2 separate regions of the Homo sapiens genome follow, and region 2 is linked to region 1. The links are contacts of gene promoters, found by promoter capture Hi-C in human tissues and cell types (Jung and others, 2019). All regions are on one chromosome and are shown on one strand. Each heading gives the region's core, a stretch centred on a gene start or on the middle of the fragment in contact. The rest is flanking DNA. Distances are from core to core; before and after follow the strand shown. Region 1 holds the start of DHX58 (DExH-box helicase 58). Region 2 overlaps STAT3 (signal transducer and activator of transcription 3).

Evidence for each region. The method cuts DNA at HindIII sites, captures the fragments that hold promoters and counts their contacts. A contact is called where the count stands out against the background at its distance.
Region 2: a contact is called between a fragment that was not itself captured here and the fragment with the promoter of DHX58 in region 1, in 2 of the 25 tissues and cell types used here (lymphoblastoid cells and pancreas).

Annotation. Positions count from the first base shown.
Region 1 is chr17:42,110,530-42,116,024 of GRCh38, reverse strand. DHX58 (DExH-box helicase 58) reads left to right here and starts at 3,311. Exons shown (of 14, transcript NM_024119.3): 1 at 3,311-3,420; 2 at 3,820-3,912; 3 at 4,132-4,300; 4 at 4,528-4,729; 5 at 5,112-5,302. The coding sequence starts at 4,133. It overlaps KAT2A (lysine acetyltransferase 2A), which reads left to right. Exons shown (of 18, transcript NM_021078.3): 12 at 192-302; 13 at 990-1,133; 14 at 1,421-1,535; 15 at 1,631-1,667; 16 at 1,743-1,806; 17 at 1,941-2,025; 18 at 2,183-2,914. The coding sequence ends at 2,376. RefSeq lists enhancers at 1-244, 2,944-3,463, 3,704-3,803. The HindIII fragment of the contact is 12,117 bases long and covers 2-5,495 here.
Region 2 is chr17:42,314,680-42,320,174 of GRCh38, reverse strand. It overlaps STAT3 (signal transducer and activator of transcription 3), which reads left to right. Exons shown (of 24, transcript NM_139276.3): 22 at 2,951-2,993; 23 at 3,274-3,386; 24 at 4,375-5,495. The coding sequence ends at 4,430. Among named protein-coding and RNA genes, the nearest start is that of STAT5A, 29 kb to the right of the region's middle. The HindIII fragment of the contact is 8,739 bases long and covers 1-5,495 here.

The sequences.
Region 1 (5,495 bases), core at 2,062-4,561:
AAAGCCCGCACCCTTCACTTTCTCCCCATAAGCTCCCCTTCCTCTGTCAGCTGCCTTTCTTCCTCTTTGCCTGGATGCTCTCGCTCTCTCTACCTCCTTTCCAATCTACCCGCTCTTCTCTGGTCTCTGAGACCTCTCCAGCACCAGGCCCATCCTCAGCTCCTGGTGAGTCCTGCTTCCCTCCCCCGCAGGGTTATGGGACCCACCTGATGAACCACCTGAAGGAGTATCACATCAAGCACAACATTCTCTACTTCCTCACCTACGCCGACGAGTACGCCATCGGCTACTTCAAAAAGCAGGTGACCCGTAGCCTCGTCCCACACCGGTCCTTTGCCTGGAGGCTGGGGTAATTCTGTCCAGCCCCTCTGTGGATGGAGTAGGAGTCCCTTTGCGTCCCCTACTTCACCTGACACCTGCCAGGAGAGTCTCCATGCCTATCTTCTTTCCTCTGCTGCCATTGCCCCAGGGGAGAATGAGGGCCTGTGGGGCCAGTAGAGCAGGCCGGAGGAACTGGGGGTCAGTAGAGCATCCTGGAGGAACTAGGGGGCCAGTAAAGCAGGCCGGAGGAACTGGGGGGGGCACTAGAGCAGGCTGGAGGAACTGGGGGGCTAGTAGAGCAGGCTGGAGGAACTGGGGGGCCAGTAGAGCAAGCTGGAGGAACTGGGGGCCAAGAGCAGGCTGGAGGAACTGGGGGGCCAGTAGAGGAGGCTGGAGGAACTGGGGGGCCAGTAGAGGAGGCTAGAGGAACTGGGGGGCCAGTAGAGCAGGCTGGAGGAACTGGGGGACTCTTCGGGATGAGTCAGGAGTGGGCAGCTGACCTGGGACCTTTCCAGGGACAGTTTGAACCCTCACAGTGCCCCAGGAGGAGGTTCAGGAGCAGGAGGTGGCAAGTGGCACGTGCTACTCCTCTGGTGCTCCCAGGTGAGGGACGACAGAAGTTGGGAAATACTTATGGATGGACTGGGTCATGACCATCCACCCCCCAGGGTTTCTCCAAGGACATCAAGGTGCCCAAGAGCCGCTACCTGGGCTACATCAAGGACTACGAGGGAGCGACGCTGATGGAGTGTGAGCTGAATCCCCGCATCCCCTACACGGAGCTGTCCCACATCATCAAGAAGCAGAAAGAGGTGGTGTGCACACATGCGCATCTGTGGGATTTTTCATGAATGGGCATGCAGAGGGCGAGCACACGTGTGTAGACCTGTTCTACGTCTACATGCATATATGTGTGTGAGTGAGGAGGGGCAGGCCAGGATCTTGGCTCTTGCTCTGCTCCCTTGGGGAAGTTATGAGGGGAGGTGCTGGATTAGGTGGCGTTGCAGCTGGGTGGGTGCAGCCAGTGGCTCCGACTGTGGCCCTGGGAGGGGTTGTTGTTGGGGCTGGAGTTGGCCCCTCAGTCCCTTCCTTCCCTCAGATCATCAAGAAGCTGATTGAGCGCAAACAGGCCCAGATCCGCAAGGTCTACCCGGGGCTCAGCTGCTTCAAGGAGGGCGTGAGGCAGATCCCTGTGGAGAGCGTTCCTGGCATTCGTAAGCAGGGGTCTCAGTTGCAGGGTAGTGGGGGCACGATGCTTGGGGTGTGGACTGGCATTCTTAGAGACATTCTCCCACTTCCCACTTTGCAGGAGAGACAGGCTGGAAGCCATTGGGGAAGGAGAAGGGGTGAGTGTCAAAGGAGCCGGGTTGGGGGTGGGGCAGAGGGACTTGGAGCCTCAGACTTGGTGTCTCTCGCCCCAGGAAGGAGCTGAAGGACCCCGACCAGCTCTACACAACCCTCAAAAACCTGCTGGCCCAAATCAAGGTGGGGAGACCAGGTTTCCTTTCCAGGGCCCCTGCACCAATGGCTGTGGCCTCTTGATGCAGTGTGGGGTGGGTAGTGGTCTCGGGCTGGCGTGGGCGCAGCAGGGCTGTCCCCAGCCCGGCTCTTCTCTCCAGTCTCACCCCAGTGCCTGGCCCTTCATGGAGCCTGTGAAGAAGTCGGAGGCCCCTGACTACTACGAGGTCATCCGCTTCCCCATTGGTGAGGACCTTCCATTCCATCCCCTTCCCTCCTCTTCTGTCCCCACACCTGCTCCTGCCCTCACTGCGCCCTGCAGCCCCAGGGGGCCCACCCTGGTGGACAGCCCTGCCGTGGTCTTCAGCCTCTTAAAGCTGTGCTCCGTCTCCTGCTGCCCCAGACCTGAAGACCATGACTGAGCGGCTGCGAAGCCGCTACTACGTGACCCGGAAGCTCTTTGTGGCCGACCTGCAGCGGGTCATCGCCAACTGTCGCGAGTACAACCCCCCGGACAGCGAGTACTGCCGCTGTGCCAGCGCCCTGGAGAAGTTCTTCTACTTCAAGCTCAAGGAGGGAGGCCTCATTGACAAGTAGGCCCATCTTTGGGCCGCAGCCCTGACCTGGAATGTCTCCACCTCGGATTCTGATCTGATCCTTAGGGGGTGCCCTGGCCCCACGGACCCGACTCAGCTTGAGACACTCCAGCCAAGGGTCCTCCGGACCCGATCCTGCAGCTCTTTCTGGACCTTCAGGCACCCCCAAGCGTGCAGCTCTGTCCCAGCCTTCACTGTGTGTGAGAGGTCTCCTGGGTTGGGGCCCAGCCCCTCTAGAGTAGCTGGTGGCCAGGGATGAACCTTGCCCAGCCGTGGTGGCCCCCAGGCCTGGTCCCCAAGAGCTTTGGAGGCTTGGATTCCTGGGCCTGGCCCAGGTGGCTGTTTCCCTGAGGACCAGAACTGCTCATTTTAGCTTGAGTGATGGCTTCAGGGGTTGGAAGTTCAGCCCAAACTGAAGGGGGCCATGCCTTGTCCAGCACTGTTCTGTCAGTCTCCCCCAGGGGTGGGGGGTATGGGGACCATTCATTCCCTGGCATTAATCCCTTAGAGGGAATAATAAAGCTTTTTATTTCTCTGTGTGATTGTTTCTTTGGTGTAGTCCCAGCCTTAGCAGGCTCACCTTGGCCCCCAGGGACCTCTTGCAAACTGGAGGCTGCTCTCCCCAGCAAGCCTCAGGCCTGGTCCTGTGCTCCTGGGGTGATGGGTCCTACCTGCCTGCAGCCCCCCACCTCTCCCTCCTCCAGGCTGCTCCTGATCCAGATGCCAGGGCAGCAGGGGTCAGAACCTCCTGCCTTCACCTTAACCTGGGTGGATGTGGTTACAACTGACTGCAGAAGGGCCAGAGCGTAGAGGATCCTGTAGCACTGAAAGAGTGCTTCCCTGTTAGCACACGTGGTTCTTTTTCTTGGGGCAGGGATAGGAGATTCGTAAGTCGGCTCAGCTGGCTCCTCCCCTCAGTTTCAGTTTCCATTTCTGATTTCTGCTCTCTGCGCTGAGCACAGCGGCACCAGGCTGAGCTAAGCAGGGCCGCCTTGGGCAGGCCTACGTGGTGGTGCAGGCGAGACCCAGGCTGGGCAAGGCGCAGGTGTAGCCTGTGTTACTCCCACCCCCCCCCACCCCCACCTTTTGGCCACAGCAGGCTTCTGATGAGTTTTGAGGGTGTCCCCCCCCCCACCTCCCTCAAGTGGGGTGGAGTCCTGGGCAAAGGGAGGTCTCTGTACCGACTGCTCTGGCCAGGAGTTGGGATGAGTGGAGGGCCCAGTGGGTCTGAGTCCCCTGCCATTCCCAGAATGGAGCTGTGGCCCTACCAATGGGAGGTGATCATGCCTGCCAGGGCGCTGGCGCAGCAGCAGTACTTAACCGGAGTTTGTACTCACGGCAGTTGGCGATGACTGTTAGCACAAACGGTTCTTTTCTCTTGGTTCTTTTTCCTGGGGCGGGGATGGGAGATTCCTAAGTCGGCTCAGCTGGCTCCTTCCCTCAGTTTCAGTTTCCATCTTGGGTCTCTGAGCTGAGCAGAGTGGCACCAGGCTGAGTTAAGTGGGACTGCCCTGGGCAGACCTACCTACTAGAGCAGGTGAGTCCTGGGCTGGGCAGGGGGCAGGTGTAGCCTGTGTTACTCCCGCCTCCCCCTTTTGGGCAGAGCAGGGTCCTGATGGGTTCTGAGGGAGTCCTGCCCCACCTCCCTCAAGTGGGGTGGAGTCCTGGGCAAAGGGAGGTCTCTGTACTGACTGGTCTGGCCAGGAGTTGGGAGGGGTGGAGGAGTCGGTGGGTCTGAGTCCCCTGCCATTCCCAGAATGGAGCTTCGGTCCTACCAATGGGAGGTGATCATGCCTGCCCTGGAGGGCAAGAATATCATCATCTGGCTGCCCACGGGTGCCGGGAAGACCCGGGCGGCTGCTTATGTGGCCAAGCGGCACCTAGAGACTGTGGATGGAGCCAAGGTGGTTGTATTGGTCAACAGGGTGAGTGGTCTGTCCCTACCCCGCTCTCCCACCACCAAGCAGGGTCTTAGCTCTTCAGGCATCTCCCAGTCCCCACCAGAACTCCAAAGCTGCTGTGGCCATCGCTAAGCTCACCTGTCTTTCCACCCTGGCTCAGTACCCAGCCATGTCCTGCGGGTCACCTTACCGCCTCCCTACCCCTGGCCCCAGATTCAGCTCTCTTTTCCCAGCTCATTCTCCACCCCCAGGTGCACCTGGTGACCCAGCATGGTGAAGAGTTCAGGCGCATGCTGGATGGACGCTGGACCGTGACAACCCTGAGTGGGGACATGGGACCACGTGCTGGCTTTGGCCACCTGGCCCGGTGCCATGACCTGCTCATCTGCACAGCAGAGCTTCTGCAGATGGCACTGACCAGCCCCGAGGAGGAGGAGCACGTGGAGCTCACTGGTGAGGGCCATGGCCGGGAGGAAAAAGATACGCATCTGGGGTACCTCCTTTCGCCAACCCCAGGGCACCTCCTGGAGTCAAGGTGTTGGGAGTTTTAGTGGGAGTGAGGGGTTGCCTGTTCACAAAACCCCTGCAGGCACTCTAGTAGAAACAGGCCGGGCTATCGTGTAGGATCTTAGGCCAGTCCCTTCCCCAGCTGAGCCTCGGTTTACTAATCTGTGAAATGGAAAGAAGTCTTCCCTGCCTGGCTCCTCATCCTGGGACCAGCTGCAGGTTGTGAAGGGAAGAAGGAATTCTTACATCATTGTGGGGACTACTTGAAAGCTGATGGGAGGAAGGGCTTTGCAAACATAGGTCACAGCCTTCCCCCCTGTGCCCTCAGTCTTCTCCCTGATCGTGGTGGATGAGTGCCACCACACGCACAAGGACACCGTCTACAACGTCATCATGAGCCAGTACCTAGAACTTAAACTCCAGAGGGCACAGCCGCTACCCCAGGTGCTGGGTCTCACAGCCTCCCCAGGCACTGGCGGGGCCTCCAAACTCGATGGGGCCATCAACCACGTCCTGCAGGTCAGCCTGGCCCCTGTGGGCCTCCCACTGCCAGACCCACCAGGGACTTCCCTCCCTCCCTGCCTGCCCTGCCACTACCCCGTCCCCACCAGCCCTACCAGGCTCTCCATGGCAGGGTCTGGCCCCTTCCTCACCTAAGACCCAGCCTCCAATGGTTTCTTATGGTACAAAGAATTAACTCCCGACTCTACTG
Region 2 (5,495 bases), core at 2,122-4,621, 200 kb before region 1:
ATCTCCCTTTGCATGTGTGCTTCAGTTGGGAGATCTGTTTATCAGCCCCTGCCACACGGCTCTTTGTTCCTTCTGCAGAGGACGTTGGGGTCCCACGGCTGGTCCTTTTGACTCATTTTGCTTTCAAGGTCCCACCTCCCAGTCTGAGGCTGCATCCTCCATTACCATCGCCCTTCCTGTGGGCTGGGAGGCCAGGTCCTTTCCTGCCCAGCGATGTCAGCGTTTCCTCAGGGGCCAGGCACTCATCAGGAGAAAGGAACTAATTACTTGAGTAATTTGCCTTGCCTTGCTGAGAGGAGTGTGCCCTGAGGGACTCCATGTGAGTGTGGTGACGGGTGTGGGGGTGTCCCTGTGTTATTTTAAAATGGGTGCCTTCAGGACGATGAGCATGTGACCATTTCCTCTCTATTTCCATCACAAGAGTATTATGGTATGAGGGTCTCAGGTTAGATTATCCTCCCAAGACTCTTCTCTCTTCCTTCTCTACTGGAAGCCCACATAGCATTTCCTTATGGCTTGAGGGAGAGGTTCGGAGCCACTTACAAATTAGATAAAGTACATTTACAATCTTGTACAAAGCCACACAATGAAGTCATTTTTCTCAGCTTTTTTTTTTTTTTTTTTTTTTTTTTTGAGCCTGAGTCTCGCTCTATCGTCCAGACTGGAGTGCAGTGGCGCGATCTTGCTTCACTGAAACCTCTGCCTCCCAGGTTCAAGAGATTCTCATACCTCAGCCTCCTGAGTAGCTGGGATTACAGACATGCACCACTATGCCTGGCTAATTTTTGGATTTTTAGTAGAGACCGGGTTTCACCCTGTTGGCCAGGCTGGTCTCGAACCCCTGACCTCAAGTGATCTTCCCGCCTGGGCCTCCCAAAGTGCTGGGATTATAGGTGTGAGCCACAGTGCCCAGCCTTGTTTTTGTTTTTGTTTTGTTTTGACAGTCTGTCACTCTGTCACCCAGGCTGGAGTGCAGTGGTGCGATCTCACCTCACTTCAGCCTCTGCCTCCCAGGTTCAAGTGATTCTCCTGTCTCAGCCTCCTGAGTAGCTGGGATTACAGGCGTGCCACCACGCCCAGCTATTTTTGTAATTTCATTAAAGACAGGGTTTCCCCATGTTGGTGAGGCTGGTCTTGAACTCCTGGCCTCAAGTGATCCACCTGCTTCAGCCTCCCAAAGTGCAGGGATTACAGGCATGAGCCACTGTGCCTGGCCTCAGCTATCTTGAATGCTGGAGAATTAAATCCTTTTCTGTCTAGGGTGTCAGCTCCCTAAGGGCTGGGCCAAAACAGTTGGATTTATAAGACACTAGAGTCTTGCCTCAGTAGCTCCTTTGAATTCTGCACTGAATTGATCAGTTTCTTGGCCCAAAGTAAACTCAGATGGCAGCCCAAGAGCCACTCTGCAGTGCCTTCTTTCACATGGTCATCATGCTCTCTGATCCCTCAGGTTCTGTCTAAGCCTCATGTTTTATGACCGTGCTGTTCTCAGCCCACCTCACCCTGCCCCATGCCTTCTCAATGGTTTGTTCACCTGAATTCCCCAGATTTCATGCCAGTATCCCCAAGGTTCCTTGACCTCTTGGTGTAAGCATTCAGCATCTAAAATTCATTTTATTCCCGTCAACGCATTTCTAACTGTAGAACAAGAATTATAAATGACAAAGCTCATAGAAAATTGGCACCTTGTCTTCCCCCTCCCTCTTATTTTATACATAAAAGAGAATATGGGCTGGGCATTGTGGCCAAGGCTGGGCATGATAGCTCATACTTGTAATCCAGCACTTTGGGAGGGTGAGGCAGATGGATCACCTGAGGTCAGGAGTTCAAGACCAGCCTGGCCAACATGGTGAAACCTCATCTCTACTAAAATTACAAAAAAAAAATTAGCTAGGCATGGTGGCAGATGCCTGTAATCCAGCTACTCAGGAGGCTGATGAAGGAGAATCACTTGAACCCTGGAGGCAGAGGTTGTAGAGAGCCAAGATGGCGCTACTGCACTCCAACCTGGGCGAAAGAGAGCAAGACTCCGTCTCAAAAAAAAAAAAGACAAAAATTAGCCAGGCATGGTGGTGCCACCTGTAGTCCCAGCTGCTTGGGAGCCTAAGGCAGGAGAATCGTTTTGACCTGGGAGTAGGAGGTTGCGGTAACCGAGATTGTGCCACTGCACTTGAGCCTGGGCAACAGAGTGAGACTCTGTCTCAAAACAATAAGAACAACAGCAACAAAAGAGAGAGACCATGCCTTGCTCCAGGTCTCTTAGCTATTGAAGATGTACCTGGACCCAGGTCTCCGGTCTTCTAGTTGAAGCAATTGTACTGCCTTACAAAGTCACATTCTCTTTGGTGCTTTTTGATTGACGTATTTATCCAACTAGAAAGTTACTCATGCCCTCATCCAAAAATGTGGTAGAGGCCAGATTAGTGCTGGTAGGAATAAGAGATATAACCTTTGGCTTTGGAACCACAAGCATTAGCAGTCTCCATGTTCTTTAAAGACTTGGTGATATTGGTATTTAGGCTGGACACCATGCAAAGACTACACAGGCTCGGTTCCTGCATGCAGAGAAGTTATCTAAGAGATATGACCAGGCCGGAATAGAATGCTCAGACCACGTGGAGGCTGTTAAACTTTTACATAATCTAGGGAAAGAAGGGACACAAGGTGGCATTAGTCTAGGGTCAGGTGGGAAAAGGTTATGCTGAAAAGTCTCTGCAGCTCAGGACAGCTTTGTGCAAAGAACTGAAGTTCACAGCTGCTAGTGCCTGGGAGATCAAATAGTATAAATGAGGGCAGACAACCCTGAGGGGCAGATGGAGCTTTCCAGACAATCTTGGCATGAGGATGAGTGAGTTTCAAATCAGTCCTGCCGAGGCAGATGGCTTCCTCCAGCTCTGCTTACTGAATGCGAAGTCACAGTCAGTAAGAAAACTGGTTTTCTTCTTCCCAGGCGCTGCCCCATACCTGAAGACCAAGTTTATCTGTGTGACACCGTAAGTGGCTTCCTTTCCCCGTTTTGCCTTCATTTCTAATATCCTCAGTTATCCCTGGGAATGGGACACTGGGTGAGAGTTAATCTGCCAAAGGTTGGAAGCCCCTGGGCTATGTTTAGTACTCAAAGTGACCTTGTGTGTTTAAAAAGCTTGAGCTTTTATTTTTCTGTTGGAGACCAGAGTTTGATGGCTTGTGTGTGTGTGTTTTGTTCTTTTTTTTTTTTCCATTGTGTCTTGTCAACCCCCCGTTTCCCCTCCTGCTGCCCCCCATTTCCTACAGAACGACCTGCAGCAATACCATTGACCTGCCGATGTCCCCCCGCACTTTAGATTCATTGATGCAGTTTGGAAATAATGGTGAAGGTGCTGAACCCTCAGCAGGAGGGCAGTTTGGTGAGTATTTGGTTGACAGACTTTGTCCCTATAAGGGAAGTTGGTCCCCTTTGTGTGATGCTCTCACATGTACACACCGAGAGCTGGTCACTCGGAATGGTAGGAGATTCTAGAGCTTTGCTTTCCAAAAGAGATGGTATGAATGCCACATGTGTGAGTATAAATCTTCTAGCAGCCACACTGGAAATAGACGAACTTAATTTTTACAATATATTTTATTTAACCCACTAAATCCAACATACTCTCAATTTAACATTTCAGAAAAAGTTGAGGCTGGGTGAGTGGCTCATGCCTGTAATCCCAGCACTTTGGGAGGCCGAGGTGGGTGGATCACTTGAGGTCAGGAGTTCGAGACCAGTCTGACCAAAATCTCTAAAATATAAAAATTAGCTGGGCATGGTGGCGCATACCTGTAATCCCAGCTACTCAAGAAGCTGAGGTGGGAGGATCGCTTGAGCCTGGGAGGTGGAGGTTGCAGTGAGCAGAGATCGTGCCACTGCACTCCAGCCTGGGCGACAGAGTGAGACTCCATCTCAAATAAACAAAACTAAACTAAAAAGAAAAAGTTGAGACCTTTTTTTATTCTTTTTTTTCATACTAAGCCTTTAAAATCCAGTGGGCTTTTGACAGCCACAGCACAGCTCAGTTTGGACAAACCAAATCTCAAATGCTTGGTGGCCACGTGTGTCTCGGGGCTCCTGAATTAAACAGTAGATCAAGGGCAGAAGATCTCAGGACAGCCTTAGAGCTTCTGTAAACATGGAGCTCTGGGAATCAGTTAAGGTGGGAATGAGAAAGGACCCTTCCCGAGGCAGGGTCCTCCAGGGAGGAGGGTAAATCTGGCTTTTCTGACCATCCCTGGGCCTTAAGGGGCAGGAGATTGGATAGCAGTGGTAGCCTGGGCCCTGTCCTCTGAAGGGCTGGGGGCGTGGCCTGCCAGTTGCAGAGGGTGGACAACTGAACTAGTTTTCCCTGTCTGTCCCTCCAGAGTCCCTCACCTTTGACATGGAGTTGACCTCGGAGTGCGCTACCTCCCCCATGTGAGGAGCTGAGAACGGAAGCTGCAGAAAGATACGACTGAGGCGCCTACCTGCATTCTGCCACCCCTCACACAGCCAAACCCCAGATCATCTGAAACTACTAACTTTGTGGTTCCAGATTTTTTTTAATCTCCTACTTCTGCTATCTTTGAGCAATCTGGGCACTTTTAAAAATAGAGAAATGAGTGAATGTGGGTGATCTGCTTTTATCTAAATGCAAATAAGGATGTGTTCTCTGAGACCCATGATCAGGGGATGTGGCGGGGGGTGGCTAGAGGGAGAAAAAGGAAATGTCTTGTGTTGTTTTGTTCCCCTGCCCTCCTTTCTCAGCAGCTTTTTGTTATTGTTGTTGTTGTTCTTAGACAAGTGCCTCCTGGTGCCTGCGGCATCCTTCTGCCTGTTTCTGTAAGCAAATGCCACAGGCCACCTATAGCTACATACTCCTGGCATTGCACTTTTTAACCTTGCTGACATCCAAATAGAAGATAGGACTATCTAAGCCCTAGGTTTCTTTTTAAATTAAGAAATAATAACAATTAAAGGGCAAAAAACACTGTATCAGCATAGCCTTTCTGTATTTAAGAAACTTAAGCAGCCGGGCATGGTGGCTCACGCCTGTAATCCCAGCACTTTGGGAGGCCGAGGCGGATCATAAGGTCAGGAGATCAAGACCATCCTGGCTAACACGGTGAAACCCCGTCTCTACTAAAAGTACAAAAAATTAGCTGGGTGTGGTGGTGGGCGCCTGTAGTCCCAGCTACTCGGGAGGCTGAGGCAGGAGAATCGCTTGAACCTGAGAGGCGGAGGTTGCAGTGAGCCAAAATTGCACCACTGCACACTGCACTCCATCCTGGGCGACAGTCTGAGACTCTGTCTCAAAAAAAAAAAAAAAAAAAAGAAACTTCAGTTAACAGCCTCCTTGGTGCTTTAAGCATTCAGCTTCCTTCAGGCTGGTAATTTATATAATCCCTGAAACGGGCTTCAGGTCAAACCCTTAAGACATCTGAAGCTGCAACCTGGCCTTTGGTGTTGAAATAGGAAGGTTTAAGGAGAATCTAAGCATTTTAGA